3 separate regions of the Homo sapiens genome follow, and all the other regions are linked to region 1. Evidence: promoter capture Hi-C in human tissues and cell types (Jung and others, 2019). All regions are on one chromosome and are shown on one strand. Each heading gives the region's core, a stretch centred on a gene start or on the middle of the fragment in contact. The rest is flanking DNA. Distances are from core to core; before and after follow the strand shown. Region 1 holds the start of POP7 (POP7 ribonuclease P/MRP subunit). Region 2 overlaps FBXO24 (F-box protein 24). Region 3 has its middle 5.5 kb from the start of MOSPD3.

Evidence for each region. The method cuts DNA at HindIII sites, captures the fragments that hold promoters and counts their contacts. A contact is called where the count stands out against the background at its distance.
Region 2: a contact is called between a fragment that was not itself captured here and the fragment with the promoter of POP7 in region 1, in 3 of the 25 tissues and cell types used here (dorsolateral prefrontal cortex, lymphoblastoid cells and spleen).
Region 3: a contact is called between a fragment that was not itself captured here and the fragment with the promoter of POP7 in region 1, in 2 of the 25 tissues and cell types used here (dorsolateral prefrontal cortex and spleen).

What each region holds. Positions count from the first base shown.
Region 1 is chr7:100,704,484-100,707,623 of GRCh38, reverse strand. It overlaps POP7 (POP7 ribonuclease P/MRP subunit), which reads right to left and starts at 1,503. Exons shown (of 2, transcript NM_005837.3): 1 at 1,320-1,503; 2 at 138-803. The coding sequence starts at 793. The coding sequence ends at 371. RefSeq lists an enhancer at 1,895-2,164. The HindIII fragment of the contact is 15,036 bases long and covers 1-3,140 here.
Region 2 is chr7:100,595,478-100,598,617 of GRCh38, reverse strand. FBXO24 (F-box protein 24) reads right to left here. Exons shown (of 10, transcript NM_033506.3): 8 at 2,912-3,043. All of the region lies in intron 6 of PCOLCE-AS1 (PCOLCE antisense RNA 1), which reads left to right. Among named protein-coding and RNA genes, the nearest start is that of PCOLCE, 5.3 kb to the left of the region's middle. The HindIII fragment of the contact is 6,050 bases long and covers 1-3,140 here.
Region 3 is chr7:100,616,483-100,619,622 of GRCh38, reverse strand. No RefSeq gene overlaps it. Among named protein-coding and RNA genes, the nearest start is that of MOSPD3, 5.5 kb to the right of the region's middle. The HindIII fragment of the contact is 1,590 bases long and covers 901-2,490 here.

The DNA of each region.
Region 1 (3,140 bases), core at 254-2,753:
AATCTATGCTCTCTATAGAGGCAAGAAACACTTGGGTTCCCCTTTCACCTAGATACCTGTAGCGTTTCCTACCATCCCTATTCAGGCACACACAGAATTTACACAGGAAAGAATCAGTGGCAGTGGGATGGCAGGACACTAGTGCAACAGGATTTTTTATTTATATGGCAATAGTTACAGACCGCATACACACACTCAGGAAGGCCCACTAACTGGGCCCACCAAGAGACAATTACCCCCACCCTCAATGCAGAGTCCTTTGGGCTTCCAGGGAACAGGCCTTTTCTTACATGGCTCTGGTCCGAGGTCCAGTACTCAGCATGCGAAGAGCCATATCACGGAGGGGATAAGTGGAGGAGTGTCTTTTCAATTACTTGGGTGTGACCCTGAAGACTCGGATGTGGATGGCTGAGTTGTTGCGGATCCGAGTCAGTGGCTCCCGTGTGTCGGTCTCTGGCTCCAGCTCATCAACAAGCTCCACGGTGGAGGTATTGGCAGCCACCTGCAAGGACCCGAAGCTGCCCGCCTGCAGCTGCAGCGCGATGTTGATGGCGCGGTTGATGGCCAGGCCCAAGCCGTGAATGTAGATCTCAGAGCACGCGTTCTGACCCCGGGCCCCTCCGTCCAGCAGCTTCTGGCAGCGGGCCAGCTGGGCCTTAAAGTCCGTCTTCATGTTGACATAAATGTCATTGGGTCTCCGGGGCAGGCGGCTGGGAAGCCTTTTCCTAAGGGTGTATTCCACTGGATCCAGTTCAGCCTCCACAGCACCGCGGGGCTCTCGGTTTTCTGCCATGCTGTGTGCCCTGGCGTGGGAAAGGGACGCGATCAGAGGGCTCAGAGGGACCTCGAAGCCTTTCCTACCCCTTTTCCTGTACAAAGGGTGCACCTGGCCGGGCAGTGGCTCACGCCTGTAACCTCAGCACTTTGGAAGGTCGAGGCGGGAGGATCACTGGAGCCCGGGTGTTTGAGATCAGCCTGGGCAACATAGCAAGACCCTGTCTTAAGAAAAATTTTTTTAATTACCCGGGCCGAGGGGGGAGGATCGCTTGAGATCGGGAGTTCGAGGCTACAGTGAGCCGTGATCGCGCCCGCCACTGCACTCTAGCTTGGGAAACAGAGCAAGCCTCTGTCTCAAACAAAAACAAAAACAAAAATAAAGGGTGCACCCGAGAAGGGACACACTCGATGTCCCTGTTTCCTTCCGGCCCCTCGTCCTCTCCCACTCACCTCCAGATCCCGCGTCTCCCCACCCCCCGTTCCGATTCATTCATCGCGTCGCCCTCAAACTCGCGCCCCTCCGCCGCCCCTCCCGTGCTTACTCTCTTCGTTCCACAGGGCCCTCCAGGCGCGCGAGGCCCGCTCCCCGCCAGGCCACTCAAGGGTTCGCCGGCCAGCCCAAGTAACCGCGACCCCAGGTCCCAGAGAAAGAAGGATGTGGGTGCAAGCAGCCAGCCAGCTCGTGGGCGCCCTGCCCGCGCCGGGGTCCTGAACGGGCTGCGGAGTGCGCACGCGCGCCCGTACCCCGCGAGCTATGAATCGCCTTCCCGGCTTCCGTTCGCCCCGCCCCTTCCCTGAGCGCAAGGGCGACTGCGCGAGGCGTTTGAGAAACGCGAGACTTCCGGGCGTGACGGGATCTACACGTGTACGCCTCGGGAACTGGCGGGCGGCCGAGGGCGGGAACCAGGTCCGAGCCGGGGAGGAGCTAGAAAGGGCCGGGTCGGCGTCTCTAGGCCTGGCGGAGTTCCCGGCCGGCGGAGGGGTAGCGTAGGGAAGACACCTGGAGGGGAGGCTGTTCTAGGGGCAGGGTTCTTCCCCATGGGAGCAGGGAAGGGGCCGAGTTCAGGAGACCGCGGTCGCCAAGGGGCCTGAACTCCGCGTCCGTCGCAGCTCCTCTGGTCAGAAGAGGCCTGGGCAGGGCTGGCAGAACTGACCCCCTAGTCTAATGTCCCTGTGGCCCGAGGACCGAGGGGGAACTGAGGGACATAGCCGGTCCCCACCTCGCTGGAGGACAGCGTCCCGGGACTCCCCTGCAGTTCACGGGAAGCTGTCCGCCTCCTGTCTGTGCTGGGGACCCACGCTGTGAGCCCTAAGCCCAGGCTTCACGGGTCCCCAAGGAACGCTGACCCACCCACGCCCCTCAACCATCTCCCACCAGCTCTGCAGCAGGCGACCCCGGATCAGGGACTTGCCGCCCCCTGGCGGGCAAGGTGGGGAGGACGCGCGCCGGATTCGTGGCTCTCAGGCCAGTGGAGTGGGGGCTCTGCCCAGATGGGCATAGTTTCTGCAGAGTTCCCTTCTGAAATGAGTAGGACCTGCTGCACTGGGGACCTTGAACTACTCTGTTTGCCCAGCATTCAAATGGGGATGTTCACAACAGCTCCACCATATTGCACATGCATTTTATTGAATGGCTAGCTGTATAGCTTCTGTCTACAAACTTGCATGCATTTATTTTTGAGACAGGGTCTCTGTGGCCCAGGCTGGACTGCAGTGGTGTGATCTCAGCTCACTACAACCTCTGCCTACCGGGTTCAAACGATTCTTGTGCCTCAGCCTCTTGAGTAGCTGGAATTACAGGCGCACGCCACCGCACCCGGCCAGTTTATTTCATTTTTTTGAGACAGGGCCTTACTCTGTCACCCAGGCTGGAGTGCAGTGGCGTTAACACGGCTCACTGCAGCCCTGAACTCCTGGGCTCAAGCAATTCTCCCGCCCCAGCCACCTGAACAGCTTGGACTACGGGCATGCACTAGCATATAAAGTTGTATTTTAGAAGTTAATCCTTGGTATTGAAATTTTCGATATGTTGGCCGGGCGCGGTGGCTCACGCCTGTAATCCCAGCACTTTGGGAGGCTGAGACGAGCGGATCACGAGGTCAGGAGATCGAGACCATCCTGGCTAACACGGTGAAACCCCGCCTCTACTAAAAATACAAAAAATTAGCCGGGCATGGTGGCAGGCGCCTGTAGTCCCAGCTACTCGGGAGGCTGAGGCAGGAGAATGGCGTGAACCCACGAGGCGGAGCTTGCAGAGAGCCAAGATCGCGCCACTGCACTCCAGCCTGGGGGACAGAGCCAGACTCCATCTCAAAAAAAAAAAAAAAGAAATTTTCGAAATGTTCACATAATTGTTGGGAGCG
Region 2 (3,140 bases), core at 351-2,850, 110 kb after region 1:
CTTCCTGCCGCTTCCTGCCTCTCTCTCTTAAGCAGCAGAGTTGGTTACATGACCAATCTGAGGCTGACCACATTACTGTTCCTTCCCACAGCCAGTCTATCCAGCACCTCCCTGGGATCTCGCTTTTCTCTCTATTACATTACTGACATGCTCTCTCTAGAGGCACTTGGCCTCTCAGTGGCTAAATCCCAGGGCGTCTTCTGCCCCCTCATTCTCCTGAGCCTGTTAGCGCTTTAATTCTGAAGACACTGATAAGTAATTTATGGTCATTCTAGAAAAATTATGAAACATTGGCAAGCAAAAAATTAATTTTAAAATCATTGGAAATCCCACCATCTACTATTAACATCTTGCTAGATATTCTTCACTGTTGGCTAAACAAACAAATACACATAAATTGTATATTTTTTATTTTTTAGAGATAGGGTCTCAGTGTCACCCAGGCTGGAGTGCAGTGGTGATCACAGCTCACTGCAGCCTTCAACTCCTGGCCTCAAGCAATCCTCCTGTCTCAGCCTCCTGAGTAGTTGGGATTACAGATGTCAGCCACCATGATGGGCAAGTTGTGTATTTTTAAACAAAAAATGGGATGGGGCCAGGTGTGGTGGCTCACACCTGTAATCCCAGCACTTTAGGAGTCTGAGGTGGGAGGATTGCTTAAAGCCATGAGTTCAATATAAGCTTGGGCAACATAGCAAGACCCTGTCTCTAAAAAAAAAAAAAACAAAAAAAACAAAAAAAACAAAAACTTATCTGGGCGTAGTGGCGCATTCCTGTAGTCCTAGCTGCTTGGGAGGTTGAGGCGGGAGGATCTCTTGAGCCCTGGAGTTGAAAGCTGCAGCAAGCTACGATTGTGTCACTGCACTCCAGCTTGGGAAGCAGTGGAGACCATGTCTCAAAAAAGTAATAATAAAAATAAAAAGAGGCTGGGTGCGGTGGCTCACACCTGTAATCCCAGCACTTTGGGAGGCCAAGGTGTGCAGATCACCTGAGGTCAGGAGTTTGAGACCAGCCTGGCCAACATGGTAAAACTCCGTCTCTACTAAAAATACAAAAATTAGCCGGGCATGGTGGTGGGCGCTGTAATCCCATCTTGGCAGGCTGAGGCAGGAGAATCACTTGAACCTGGGAGGCAGAGGTTGCAGTGAGCCGAGATCGCGCCATTGCACTCCAGCCTGGGAGACAGAGCAAGACTCTATCTTGAAAATAAAATAAAAATAAAAATAAAAATAAATGGTACTATGTAAACCATTTCATAAAAGTCTTTTTCACCTAAAAATATGGCATGACTATCTTTTCCATGTCAGTAGTAAATGTATCTTACATTGTCACACCATCAATTAACCCTACCACCCACCCCATTTGGAACTTCCTTCTCATGTGGCTTCTGGGACAGTGTTAGAGGGGTGCACGGCCTGTCTTAGAGGCACCTCTTCATCCCCTGTCTACCACAGGGCCTACTTCTCAGAGTTGCTTTTCAGTCTCTACTTCTGTTTGTTCAACCATGTTCCCAGGTAGAATCTAATTGCCAGCTAGACGTTTCCAATTGAGTGTGGTTTTTGTTTTGTTTTGTTTTGAGACAGAGTCTCTCTCCGTTGCCCAGGCTGGAATGTTGTGGCACGATCTCGGCTCACCGCAACCTCTGCCTCCCAGGCTCAAGCAATTCTCGTGCCTCAGACTCCCGAGTAGCTGGGACTAAAAGCACCCACCACCACACCTGGCTAATTTTTTATTTTTTCTAGAGACAGGGTTTCACCATGTTGTCCAGGCTGATCTCATGCTCCTGGGCTCACGTGATCCACCCACCTTGGTCTCCCAAAGTGCTGGGATTACAGGTGTGAGATATCTTTCTTCCAGAGCCACCTCTGTCTTATACCCCTCTCTTCTACATCTAATCAGTTTTGAGGCCCTATTCATTTTCTTCCCAAATAGCTCCTGTATCCATTCCTTCCCATTCTCGCTGCAGCACCAGGCGCTTGTCTCAAGTGCTGTCATCACTCAACAGCCTCCTGGCGGGCTCCCCTCCTTGGCCTCCTCTGCACAAGGCTCCTGACACATTCTCAGTCACCTCTTGGGGGTTGCCTTCTCCTATTCCAGAACCTGCAGTGACTCTTCCCCAAATCTACACCTCTCTAAGCTTGTGCCCACCTGTACCACCTCATACCTCAGTGATTCCCAAGATGCCTTCTGTGCTTTAGTGAGACCCGTCTTGTCACTGTCCCAGGTATGTGCAAGTTTCGTGCCTATCCCCCTCCTCATCACACAGAATGCCTTCTCTATCCCTACCTAAGTCTTATGTAACCCACGATGCCCTGCTCACATCTTTTTTCTTTTTCTTTGAGACGGAGTCTCGCTCTGTGGCCCAGGCTGGAGTAGGGTGGCACGATCTCAGCTCACTGCAACCTCAGCCTCCCAGGTTCAAGAGAATCTCCTGCCTCAACCTCCTGAGTAGCTGGGATTGCAGGCATGTGCCACCACAGCCAGCTAATTTTTTATATTTTTGGTAGAGACGGGGTTTCACCATGTTGCCCAGGCTGGTCTAGAACTCCTGACCTCAAGTGATCTGTCCACCTCGGCCTCCCAAAGTGTCGGGATTACAGGCGTGAGGCTCTGCACCTGGCCCCTGCTCACATCTTACCTCTTCTAGAAGTCTCTAGCCTGCCCAGGTCACCCACCCTACCCCTTCACTAAATTCCTATTGCATTTACAGTGTGCACTGCACAGAATGGACCTCGTAGTGCCAACCCTGGGTAAGACATGGGGTAGTACCACTGGCATTACATACTGAGTGGCTTAACTTCCCAAAGGAACAGAAATTGGATTCTGTGGAATCTGGAGAAGTGGACAGATCTGGGGGTTAGGGAATTGGAGGAAAGGGGTTGGGATGAGAGTTGCTGGGAAATAGTCTCACCTGTGTGGGTTCCCCTCGGTCCATTTTGTCCCCTGTTCCTAGCTGCCCGTATCTGTTATTTCCTTGCATGAAGATTCGGCCAAATTCATCCACCAGGCCAAGGTGGTTGTAGCCAAGAGCACAGAATAGGATCTAGCGTGCAAGATAGAAAGGGGATAGGGATTCCATTCCCTCCAGAGGAACTCTGAGTTCCAGAGTCTCCAAGCCACTAACCTGCCATCCCCAGCTG
Region 3 (3,140 bases), core at 446-2,945, 88 kb after region 1:
ATAGTGGTGTGTACTGTACTCCCAGATACTCAGGAGGCTGAGGCAAGGCAGGGATAATTTGAGCCCAGGAATTTCAGGCTGCAGTGAGTTATGATCGAGCCACTACACTCCAGTCTGGGTGACAGAATGAGACCTTGTCTCAAAAAAAAAAAAAAAAAAGGAACAAAGCTTTTTTTTGTTTTTGTTTTCTACAATTTCTCAACCTGTCATGGTATTCTTTTATTTGATATTTAATGTTGCACTCCTTTGGATATGGGGACACACTTTCAAAACATAAATTCATGCTTGAACCCGGGAGGCAGAGGTTGCAGTGAGCCGAGATCATGCCACTGCACTCCAGCCTGGGTGACAGAGCAAGACTCTGTCTCAGGGTAACAAAAATTATTAGGAATTTCAAGGTTGGCACAGTGGCTCACGCCTGTAATCCCAGTACTTTGGGAAGCCAAGGCAGGCAGATTGCTTGAGCATAGGCGTTCCGGAGCAGCCTGGGCAATATGGTGAAATCTTATCTCTACAAAAAGTAAAAAAATTGCTGGGTGCGCTGGCTCACGCCTGTAATCCCAGCACTTTGGGAGGCCGAGGCAGGTGGATCACGAGGTCGGGAGATCGAGACCATCCTGGCTAACACGGTGAAACCCCGTCTCTACTAAAAATACAAAAAATTAGGTGGGCGTGGTGGCGGGCGCCTGTAATCCCAGCTACTCGGGAGGCTAAGGCAGGAGAATGGCGTGAACCCGAGGGGCGGAGCTTGCAGTGAGCCAAGATCGCACCACTGCACTCCAGCCTGGGCAACAGAGCGAGACTCTGTCTCAAAAAAAAAAAAAAAAAAAAATTAGCCAGGTGTGGTGGCGTGCACCTGTAGTCCCACCTACTCTAGGGTGCTGAGGTGGGAGAATTGCTTGAGCTTGGGAGGCGGAGGTGGCAGTGAGCCAAGATCATGCCACTGCACTCCAGCCTGGGCAACAGAGTGGGAGAGTGGAACCCTGTCTCAAAAAAAAAAAAAAAAGAAAAAGAAAAAGAAAAAGAATGTCAACATAACAATCTCAGAGCATTAAACCCCAAGCACAGAACCCCCTTCTGAGCATGGGGCCCTGTAAGACTCCAACAGTGGTTACACACATTAGATGATTGGCCCTGCCTGGAACATCCTCCAGGATCCCCCCGCCTCCTTTTTTTTTAGACGGAGTCTCGCACTGTTGCCCCAGGTAGAGTGCAGTGGCGCGATCTCGGCTCATGGCAACCTCTGCCTCCCAGGTTCAAGCAATTCTCCTGCCTCAGCCTCCCTAGTAGCTAGGATTACAGGTGCCCGCCACCACGCCCAGCTAATTTTTTGTTGTTGTTGTTGTATTTTTAGCAGAGACAGGGTTTCACCATGTTGGCCAGGCTGGCCTCGAACTCCTGACCTCATGATCTGCCCTCCTTGGCCTCCCAAAGTGCTAGGATTACAGGTGTGAGTCACCATGCCTGGCCAGGATCCCCTTTGACCAGTCTTTGTCCAGTGAGGGTGGAGACACTGAAGTGTAAGCTACTGGAGGCAGGGAATTCTAAGTGCTGCTGGCACCGTGTGCCTTTAATCACAGCTTCAGGAGGCTGTGGTCTTGACAGCTCTTCAAGACACTGGGAAGTAAAAGCTTCTTGGTCTAAGGCTTGGGATGCCACAGGGCTCTGGATTTCAGGATGCAACTGTACCCTCCTTAGCCCCCTAAGCTTGACTTGTTGAGTTCTCAGAACCCTGAATTAGGATCAGAAACCTCCTGAGCTATTTGCTTCCCTGAGATACAGTCCAGACAAGTGTCCCAAAGCACCTTCTCAACCCTTCTTCACTTTGTCCATTTCTCCCTGTGGTAGACAGAATAATGATCTGGACAAAAATGTCCATATCGTAATCCCTGAAACCTGTGAATGAAGTCCCTAAAACGGACATTGCACATGTGATCTTGAGATGGGTGAATTAAGGATCTTTTGGTTTGTTTCCTTACTTATCGGAAATTTTTAATTTTAATTCAGCCTCCAGAGTAGCTGGGATTGCAGACATGAGCCACCACGCCCAGCTAAGTTTTTGTTTTGTAGAGATAGAGTCTCACTATGTGGCCCAGGCTGGAGTGCGGTGCTGCAATCATAGCTTATTGCAACCTCAAACTCCTGGGTTCAAGAGATCCTCCCACCTCAGCCTCCTGAGTAGCTGGGACTGCAAGTGTGAGCCACCATGCCTGGCTAATTAAAAAAAAAAAAATGCCAGGTGTGGTGGCTCATGCCTGTAATCCCAGCGCTTTGGGAGGCTGAGGTGGGCCTGAGGTCAGGAGTTTGAGATCAGCCTGGCCAACATGGTGAAGCCCTCTCTATAATTATACAAAAATAAGTCAGGGGTGGTGGCGCACCTCTGTAGTCCTAGCTACAAAGGAGGCTGAGGCAGGAGAGTCACTTGAACCCAGGAGGTGGAGGTTCCAGTGAGCCTTGATTGTACCACTGCACTCCAGCCTGGGCGACAGAGCGAGACTCCATCTCAAAAAAAAAAAATTTTTTTTTAGAGACAGGCTCTTGCTATATTGTCCAGGCTAGTGTTGAACTTCTGGCCTCAAGCTCTTCTCCTGCTCTGGCCTCTCAAAGCACTAGGATTACAGGCGTGAGCCCCTGCCCCCAGCCCCTCAGAAAGCCTTCTTGACCACACCAGTAACAAGGTCTTTTCACAAGTACTCACAAGACCATTAACCTATGTGGCACCTCGAATGCGTTTTGGGGACCTGGGCGCATCCAGACTGGTGTGAACGGATATCTTCCATACACATGTAATTTAGCAAAGGGGTTTCCTGGGCTATGGCAAGAGCTGTCCCCAGACTCCTGGACACAAACGGCACACCCATTCTCCATGCAGTATCAGGGCCACACCCCACTGGAGCCAGTTCTGGGTGTGAGAGGGAGAAGACTCCCAGGGTAGTGGAGCAGGTCCCAATGCCCCTAAAGTAAAGCTGGAACAACTGATCACCTTCCAGTGCTGTGACAGCCTGGGTCTGTCTTAATATCTTGCTGATCTTTGTTCCCAGTCAACCATCTGCCCAGAGTCACTGGCTCTCCCTCCTTTTTATTTTTTTTGTAGAAATGGGGTCTACGCTATGTTGTCCAGGCTGGTCTTGAAACCCTGG